Regions from separate parts of the Homo sapiens genome. Here regions 1 and 3 are each linked to region 2. Evidence: promoter capture Hi-C in 16 types of primary human blood cells and fetal thymus (Javierre and others, 2016). All regions are on one chromosome and are shown on one strand. The core of a region is centred on a gene start or on the middle of the fragment in contact, and the rest is flanking DNA. Distances in the headings are between cores, read along the strand shown. Region 1 overlaps DCTD (dCMP deaminase). Region 2 holds the start of ING2 (inhibitor of growth family member 2). Region 3 overlaps IRF2 (interferon regulatory factor 2).

Region 1 (2,706 bases), core at 170-2,669, 590 kb before region 2:
GGCCAAGCAACCCTGGCTCCCTGGTCCATTGGGTGGGATAGGAGGCCAAGCACAGAGGCACTCACCAAAACCCAGAGCCCTTTGCCAGCAGAAATCAGCAAGGCCACAAGTGCTGGGCAGCTGGATACATGTGGCAAGCATTACTAAAAATTCCCTTAAGTTTAACAACGGGAACAAGTTAATTCTCCAACTCTCTAATTTGTAAACTATATCATCAAAATCGGTTACGAAAACCCAAGGAAAGAGTGATATCTGAATCACCAAGAGTATTTTACCTCATTTGATAACATTGGTATTTTGATTAAATGTGCTTCACTATAATGAATTCCACAAAGAAAAAGGAATGAAAAATGTCAACTGAATACTTCATCACAGGTTTAGCAACCCACCCCCTCATGAAAATAAAAATCTTCCCAAGTTTTTTAATCTTGTAAATTAGATAAATCTGCTGCTTCCTCTTTTTTAATTGTCATTCATCTGAAAAGATTCTTAGTATAATAACATTGCCTTCTTCCTGCCACTTAATGTTACTGACATCATATTATCTTTTGGATTTTTCAGGAAAAGGATGGAATAAAAAGCTTCTTTAGCAGAGGGAATTTTCATTTTCCACATTAATACTACATTATAATAAAATAGTTTTATGAAGTTTTGATCCCAAGACTGGAAGAACAAAAACACCCTTTAAAAATAACTCTCTAGAGACACAGCCCAGGAAAAGCTCCATCTTCCTATTATGTTACAAGTAGTGTGTGTTTCCCTCCTCCCCACAAGGCATCAATCAGGACTAATGACTTCCGACTTACGGAATTAATAAAGCAGTATTAAGCTGTATGTTATTTGGTAAACTCAAATTTACACAGTTCTCAAGCTCCCTGTCACAGTCCCTTGGGGCTGCTATAACAAAGTCCCATAGACTGGGTGGCTGAGAAACAATGGACATTTATTTCTCATGGTTCTGGAGGCTGGAAGTCAGGACACCAGCATGGTTAGATTCTGGCAAGGTCTCCTTTCAGGGTTGCAGATAGCCATCTTCTCCGCCTATCCTTGCACATGGAAAAAGAGTAACTGAGCTCCCTGGGGTCCCTTTTAGAAGGGCACTAATCCCATTCAGGAGAGCTCCACCCTCATGGCCTAATTACGTCCCCCCAGGCCCCACCTCCAAATATCAGCACATTGGAATTAGGGTTTCAACATGTGAATTTGGGGGGAGACACATTCAGTCCACTGCACTCCCCTTTGAAGAAATGTTACAGTGAGCCACGCATGTGGCTTTCTGCATGATGCCGGACACAGGCCACCCCTCCCCGAGCTCCTGATCTCTGAGGAGTAATTATTTTATCGGAGCCTCAGTCTGATCAACTGCAAAAAAAAATGAGACAATGATTGGCATTTCAGTACAGCTGAATTCATGTGCCCCACAGGAGAGACACAGGGAGGTAGCAGGAAGAGCACTGACCTTGGAATTAGGAGATGTCACCCTGCATGTGTGACATTATAGAAGTTACTTACAAGAAAGGAGGAGGCTTAGATCCTGTGGGCATAGAACCCTGAGACACTACTAAGGTATTGCAAGGGGTCCAAGCATATCCACAACTGGATAAATCCCATGTCCAGGACATACATAAACTTTTCCCAAACATACATAAATGCTATCCAATTAATAAAGTTCAGATTAACAAAAAATGTTACTGATACGAAGTAGTTTTTGTCATTGTGGAGTTTCTTACTCAAAAGATACTAAGAATTTAGCATTATGCAGGGGTCCTGGAAGTTTTTCAGCATTTAAAAGAGGGTCCTGTACATTCAAAAGAGTTAAAAATCATTGTCCAGAACTCGAGATAATCTCTAAAGCTCCTTTACAGGGATTAACCTATGAATTTACCCTTCCTGCTACAGCAGCTCAGTCACCATTAATGTAGATGAGGAAAGAATGGGTTGAGCTATCCAACTCCAGGCAGTATCCCCTTATTTTTTAAATTAATTTTGAAAATCTTAAAACGAAAGCAAAAAAAAAAAAAAAGACTTTGCATTTGAGTCAATTATCAGCAAACATTTCTGTGACATCCCAGGCAATCCAAACATTTACTTCTCTGTGGCCTGAAAAACCTTGAGAAGACAACAAGTGTACAGTTTATACACAGTCATCGTCATTTAGACTTTAAGCCCATCTTTACTGTATTATGGCGGCAGTAATACTAAATGCCTTTTAGAAACCATTTAATACCTTCTACAACTTTTATGGTACATCAAATTACAAGCTTACTCTCGTGAAAGAAAACTGTCGACATTCTAACACAGCTACATATAAATGAATAATTGATAAGTAAGAGCAAAGAGCTTTGAAAACCTAGAGGTATCATATGGATAATAAAAAATAATGCAGACAGACAACCAGTGCCCAGGAGCTCAGGAGCTATTCAATAAAAAACAATCGGTGAAGTTGGACAAATACCTATGCAGGTTTTTAAAAAAATTCCTTCTAGAAAGGGGCTCTGAAAGGTACTCTCCTCAATTTGGACAAAAGGCAGTGTCTCATAACCAACAAAATCAGCTACACGGGAAGTCAGGAGAGCTGGGAAGTCTGGGGTGTGGGGCAGGTGCTGCAAATGTACTGCATGGCCCTTGGCTTCCAGGTCACTGCTTAAAGATCTGCTGGGGGCTCTGGGTGACTGAAGAAGGCACAGGCCCCATTGGGAGGCCCAC
Region 2 (2,701 bases), core at 202-2,701:
TCTAAGAAGATCCAAATTTGTCACCACTCACTCACATTTTAACTCAAAGGTAGTACTCACAATTGGCCTTGTTTACATAGGCATTCCATTAAAATTATCCATGCATTCATTCTATTTGCACCCATTTCTTTCAAAAATGTCCATCTGTAATTAAAATCAGCTCCTCTGCCTGACATCTCATTTACACTACACCGAAATTAAACCCCACTAGGAGATCACGTAGATTATGGGGCCGAGGGCCCGCCCGCTGACTAGGTTTTCACTCGCGTCTCCTCCATGCCCCAGGTCCCCTCCGATTGCAGTCCTGGGGCAGGACTGAGCAAAAAGTCCCGTAAAGCTGGCGTGTGCCCCACTCCGCCAGGAAGCCTCACCGACGTCCTGTGCTTAAATGTTCTGACACCCCCCAAAAGCAGTTGTTTTTAAAGGCTGTCTGTGGGACCAATGCGTTGTCAAACAGATGCCGTCCCGCATCCCCTCCCCCTAAATGACACAGAAGATTCCAGCGTAGGGGAAGGGCCACGAAACCCGCAGGGCACACGACGCCGGGGGCCGGAGGGAGCACCGCCTACCTCCCTGATCAAGCCCCGCGGTGCCGGGCGAGCCCGAGGGCCCGGCAGGAGGCGGGCGGCAGCCCCAGGCGAGCTCGGAGGCGGCGGGAACGCAGCCGCCGCGCATGCCGGGAGCCGCACGCCGCCCGCCGGGGCGCGCAGTCCCGCAGGCCTCGCTCCAGGTCGTCCGAAAAGGAACCGCCTGCTGCTCCTTTGCAGGCTCGCGAGGAGCCGCACTCGGACCGCCTGATGGGGAAAAAGCCGGTGTGGCCGGGCGGAGCGAGCCGAGCGGAGCTGGAGCTGCCCCTCCCAGCGGGGAGGACGGCACGAAGGACCGAGCCGCCTCCCCTCCCGGGTCCCATTCAGACGCGAGGCGCAGAGACTGGCTCCCCGGGCTTCCCCTTTAAGGGGGGCGGGGCGCGGCCTGCCGTTTGGCCGCCCCCCACACCCTCCCCCGCTAGCCCAGAGCCGGCAGACCAATCGCCCGGGCGGCGGAGCGAAGGCGGGAGAATGCGAACCCTCCGGTAGGCGGTAGGGGCGGGCCCCGGCCTTATTCGCAGGGAGCGCTGCGCAGGCGCAGAGGCGGCCGCGGGCGGAGGGGCGGGGGCAGGCTAGCGGGAGGCTCTCCGTGAGGCACGGAGGGTGACTGGGGACAGGCGGGCGGCGACGGGCTTGTCATGGGGATCCGGGCTGCGAGACGGCACTCGTAGCATCTGGGGACTCCGAGGGGGACAGGAAGTGTCAGCGCCCGGGACCCCGGCGCCGGCCCCGCCGAGGGGATCCCCACTGCTCCGGTCCTGGAGCGGGAGGGGAGAAAGGAGGGAGCCCCGGTTTCGCCCCGCCCCTGGGCTGGTGCTGCGGGGGCGGGGAGTGAGGGCTGCTCTGGGGGGAGTGGAGATCGGGGAGCGCGGCCGTGCCCTCTCGAGCGGCTGCGGGGTCCCCGCGGCGCCGGGCTGCTGAGCTGAGGGCCCGCGGCGGCCGCGGCCGGTGCATGTGCGGCTGCTGGATGCGGAGGCGGCGGCGACGGCGCGGATCGGCAGGATGTTAGGGCAGCAGCAGCAGCAACTGTACTCGTCGGCCGCGCTCCTGACCGGGGAGCGGAGCCGGCTGCTCACCTGCTACGTGCAGGACTACCTTGAGTGCGTGGAGTCGCTGCCCCACGACATGCAGAGGAACGTGTCTGTGCTGCGAGAGCTGGACAACAAATATCAAGGTAGGAGCCGCGGGGCTGCCGGCCTCGGGAGCCGGTGGCGGGGAGCCTGTCCGGGGGAGTGCCACCTTCCCTTTCTCCCGTGACAGTCTCCCCGAGCGCACCGAGGGTCTGCCGAGCGGGACTGGGAGGACTGGAGACCGGGTTGGCGGCCCTCCGTGGCCCCGCGGTGGGCGAGTACTTCTCTGGGGTCCCCAGAGTGGGGGTGGGGGCCGCTTGTCAGCCCCCGCTGCAGACCCAGCGGCTGCAGCTGCCGCTGAGGGGAATCAGCCATTTTAAGCAGCAAGCATTTGTTCAGGCGCTGGCCCGCCCCGTGCCGCAGACCCTGCGGCCCCGGCCCGGGACTGCAGCCGGGCAAGGGTCGGAGGGAGTGAGCGGCCGGGCTCCCGCTGGTCTGCGGGGCGCGCTTCCCCACCTCACTCGCCCCCACCCCGGAGTGCGGGTGCTTTGGAACGTGCGGGGGGAGGGGGCGAGAGGCCGCGGAGGCGGACTGAGGGGGCCTTCCTCCGCGCTCCTGCCCCGGCCCGGAGGAGAGCAGTCCGTTCCGCTCTCTCGCCCCGGGAAAGTTCGCGGGCGCCCCGCGTTGTAGCCCTAGCCCAGTTCTTTCGGCAAAATGGTTAAGAGGGGAGGGGTCCCCCGCGGGAGAGGAAGAGAGGGGCGTGTGTGGCGGGGAGGGCCCCCGCGCCGGGGGCGGGGCCTGCGGGCTTGACGAGGGGCGTGGGAGGGGCGCGGCGCGCGTTCCCGCGGGCCTGGAAAATGGCTGGTCGCGAGAGGGGCGGTGGCGAGCTGGCTGCTGGGGAGGGAGTCGGGGCTGTGCGGGGGCGTTGGTTCGGCCCCAGCGGAGTCCGAATCGGGGTTTGCAGCATGTTTTGCGGTGATGTTTCCAACCTCTTTCCCAGTCAATGGATCAGGACGGCGATCAGCAGCTCGGACCGTCGCGGAT
Region 3 (2,700 bases), core at 97-2,596, 940 kb after region 2:
CCAGTACAGAGGGAAAGACGACGACAGCCTTTCTGCAAATACAACAAACTCTAGGAAACCCCCTTTGTGGTGCTTAAATGAAGCTGCTGGCGGTTTATTCGTCCTCCGTGCACCAGGATGGTATTAATAAGCACATGCATCAATCACTTTATCTATCCATCCATAAGGGGCAGCTTAATCAAGCAACAATTAGCTGAACAAGGAGGCTCTAAGCTTCATTTCCTGGGGGAGATGAGGAGTGATGGTCCATAATTCATTTAAATTGTTCAGTTGTGTAGAAGAGGAGAAATAAGACGGCCAAAGAGCTCTCGTGCGTATTTGAGAGAAAAGCGCTCAGATTTAGGCGCCAAAGATTTACCTCCAGCCAAACTTCTGTGCTAATTCAATAGAAGTTATTTATGTTTTATATTTTAAAGCACAGAATTGGTTTCCAAGTCACTCTGCCTCACCTCAAAGTTAAGGTGGAAGAAAAACCGCCAGAAGTGCCATCGCTGGGTCACTGATAGATTTGCAAATTGTAGATGTTTGTCCTCCAGAGGCCCCTCCACCACCAGTTCTCTGCAGGACACTTCAGGGTTCCCAGCGCCCCAAATCTGGCATTCCCAGAATAGTTTCATTTTCGATCATGACAACAGTTCCCACTCCCACAGCTTTTCAAGCACTTGGCTCAGGGAAGACCCACTAGGAGTAAGGGCTTTGCTTTTTGTTTCTTGTTTACAACGTTTCCTCGACGTGTGCAAGACGGAAGCCTGAACAACTGTCAGTTCCACTTGCTCGTACTTGGCTGAACACTGCAGTTACTCCCCTGGCCTCGGACTCCGGAGAAGAGCACACAGCACTGTCCAAGAACAGCTCCCACACTGAGAACAGAAACCGAAACCAGGGGTGAAGAACCGATCCTTCCTTCCACAAAGCCTGGACCAGGCAGCCATTCAGACTGCTCTCCTCGGCCCCCAACCCCAACCCAGCTCTGCCCTACAGCCAGAACACCCTTCCAAAAGCACAAACAGACTCTCATCATTCCACTGCCTAAAGCCTGTCCTTACCCCACAAGCCTCCAGCGAGGGGTCCGTCCCAAGTCTCTGCGTCTGTCACCCCTCAGCCTCAAGAGCATCCCCTCTCCCAAGCTAACTCTTACTCATTTTTCAGATTTGGCTTCAAAGTCACTTGACAGCAAACCTTCTCCATTTCACCAGGCCAGGCCCCCAAATCTGTAGACAAGAATCTCCATGAGGACCAAAGTCAATTCTGTTTTGTTCACCATGCTATTCCCAGGGCCCAGAGTACGGCAGAGGCCAACGCTCAATAAATATTAGTTGACTAAATAATGAACTTGCTATATACGCCCAGCACAGTGATACGCAATGACGGAAGGAGCTTGCAGCCTAGAAAGAGAAGACAGGGACACAGGCAATCACAGTGAGGAGAAGGATGAACTGCCATCAAAAGAAGCGTGCACCAATGCGTGGGAAATGCCATCTAGACAGGCAGTCGGGGATACCTTACCAATAATGCTTTAAATGACTTTAGGTTTTCAAGATACAATCTGGAATGTTGTTTATGTAGATCTTGTTTATTTTATACATGGGAATTCACTAGAAATGTACTGATGTTCACCAACACTGCGCTGGCCGTTACCAAGAACTATGGTATGTGGTTAGTATGGTGACCAAGCCAAAATGGAGCACTTCTGAATGTGAATGGGGTCTCATTAATACTGACACCTGAAACAGATATAAAGAGCGACTGTTCCTGGAAACACCAGGATGTGAGAAGCCTCTGGTTGTAGGGGCTAGGTATACTGACGCAGGCTCACCGTCTTCTATTCAAAATCTTGGGGCCAGATAAAGTCTTCAGAATTCAAAAGTGTGTGGATGTTAGCAAGATAATGCGGTACACATACCATATACCACAAGGAACAAAACACCCCGGAAAGTAATTAGGGCAGAACCCCTTAATCCAACACAGTTAATATTTCTGCAGTGAAACACGAACATTCACACTGATTGGGATAAATAAAAGCTATGAATAGCTTCATGTCAATTCAGGGCAGACTATCCTGCCAAATGAGTCATGATAATAACTTTCAGTTTCAGAGCATTTTGGATTGCAAATAAGGGATTTGGGGCTTGCAGTAGATTTCAAGTTATTTCAATCTTTGGAATATATTATTGTTATCACGCTACACGAAAAATCAGCATCATTTTCCTTAAACTGTATTTATATTACACATTAATCTGGCACACACTAGGCTTAATGTAGTGAATAATAGCACTGTTTAGTTCTGAAATGAAAAAATGTAATGCAAACTATTTCTGCTTATTAGAAAGTGGAAAAATACTTTTCCTAAATATTTTTATAAAATTTGAAATCTTAAGTAGCCATTTAAAAGTATTATTTCCTTTAAGTCGAGTTTACCTAACAATACGTATGTGCTTTACCTTACCAATCAAATACATAAAATACTTATAAAATAAGAAAAGCTTTAAATATTTAGATTCAAAATTTCTTTAAAATAGTCTCCCTAAGGTTCCTTTATGATGGCATTTGTAATATCATTGTTCTTTCTCCATGACATTCTAAATATTTGATTTAAAAACTAAAGTTATTATAAAAATACCTTTCCAAGGATCACGTTAAATGGCATTTGTTTGTTTGTTTGTTTGTTGCTGTGCATGCCCTATGAATGACATCCACACC

The links. Contacts are between HindIII fragments. The CHiCAGO score rates a contact against its expected background, and 5 or more counts as called.
Region 1: a fragment that was not itself captured here is called in contact with the fragment with the promoter of ING2 in region 2 in 3 of 17 cell types (activated CD4 T cells, monocytes and total CD8 T cells); the score reaches 8.2 in activated CD4 T cells.
Region 3: a contact is called between a fragment that was not itself captured here and the fragment with the promoter of ING2 in region 2, in 1 of 17 cell types (neutrophils). The highest score is 5.0, in neutrophils.

What each region holds. Positions count from the first base shown.
Region 1 is chr4:182,910,142-182,912,847 of GRCh38, forward strand. The region is part of intron 3 of DCTD (dCMP deaminase); the gene reads right to left. Among named protein-coding and RNA genes, the nearest start is that of DCTD, 5.9 kb to the right of the region's middle. The HindIII fragment of the contact is 1,680 bases long and covers 580-2,259 here.
Region 2 is chr4:183,503,607-183,506,307 of GRCh38, forward strand. It overlaps ING2 (inhibitor of growth family member 2), which reads left to right and starts at 1,452. Exons shown (of 2, transcript NM_001564.4): 1 at 1,452-1,761. The coding sequence starts at 1,590. ING2-DT (ING2 divergent transcript) reads right to left here and starts at 909. Exons shown (of 3, transcript NR_033995.2): 1 at 570-909. RefSeq lists silencers at 534-1,573, 1,794-2,513. The HindIII fragment of the contact is 10,965 bases long and covers 1-2,701 here.
Region 3 is chr4:184,448,191-184,450,890 of GRCh38, forward strand. The region is part of intron 1 of IRF2 (interferon regulatory factor 2); the gene reads right to left. Among named protein-coding and RNA genes, the nearest start is that of IRF2, 25 kb to the right of the region's middle. The HindIII fragment of the contact is 2,270 bases long and covers 212-2,481 here.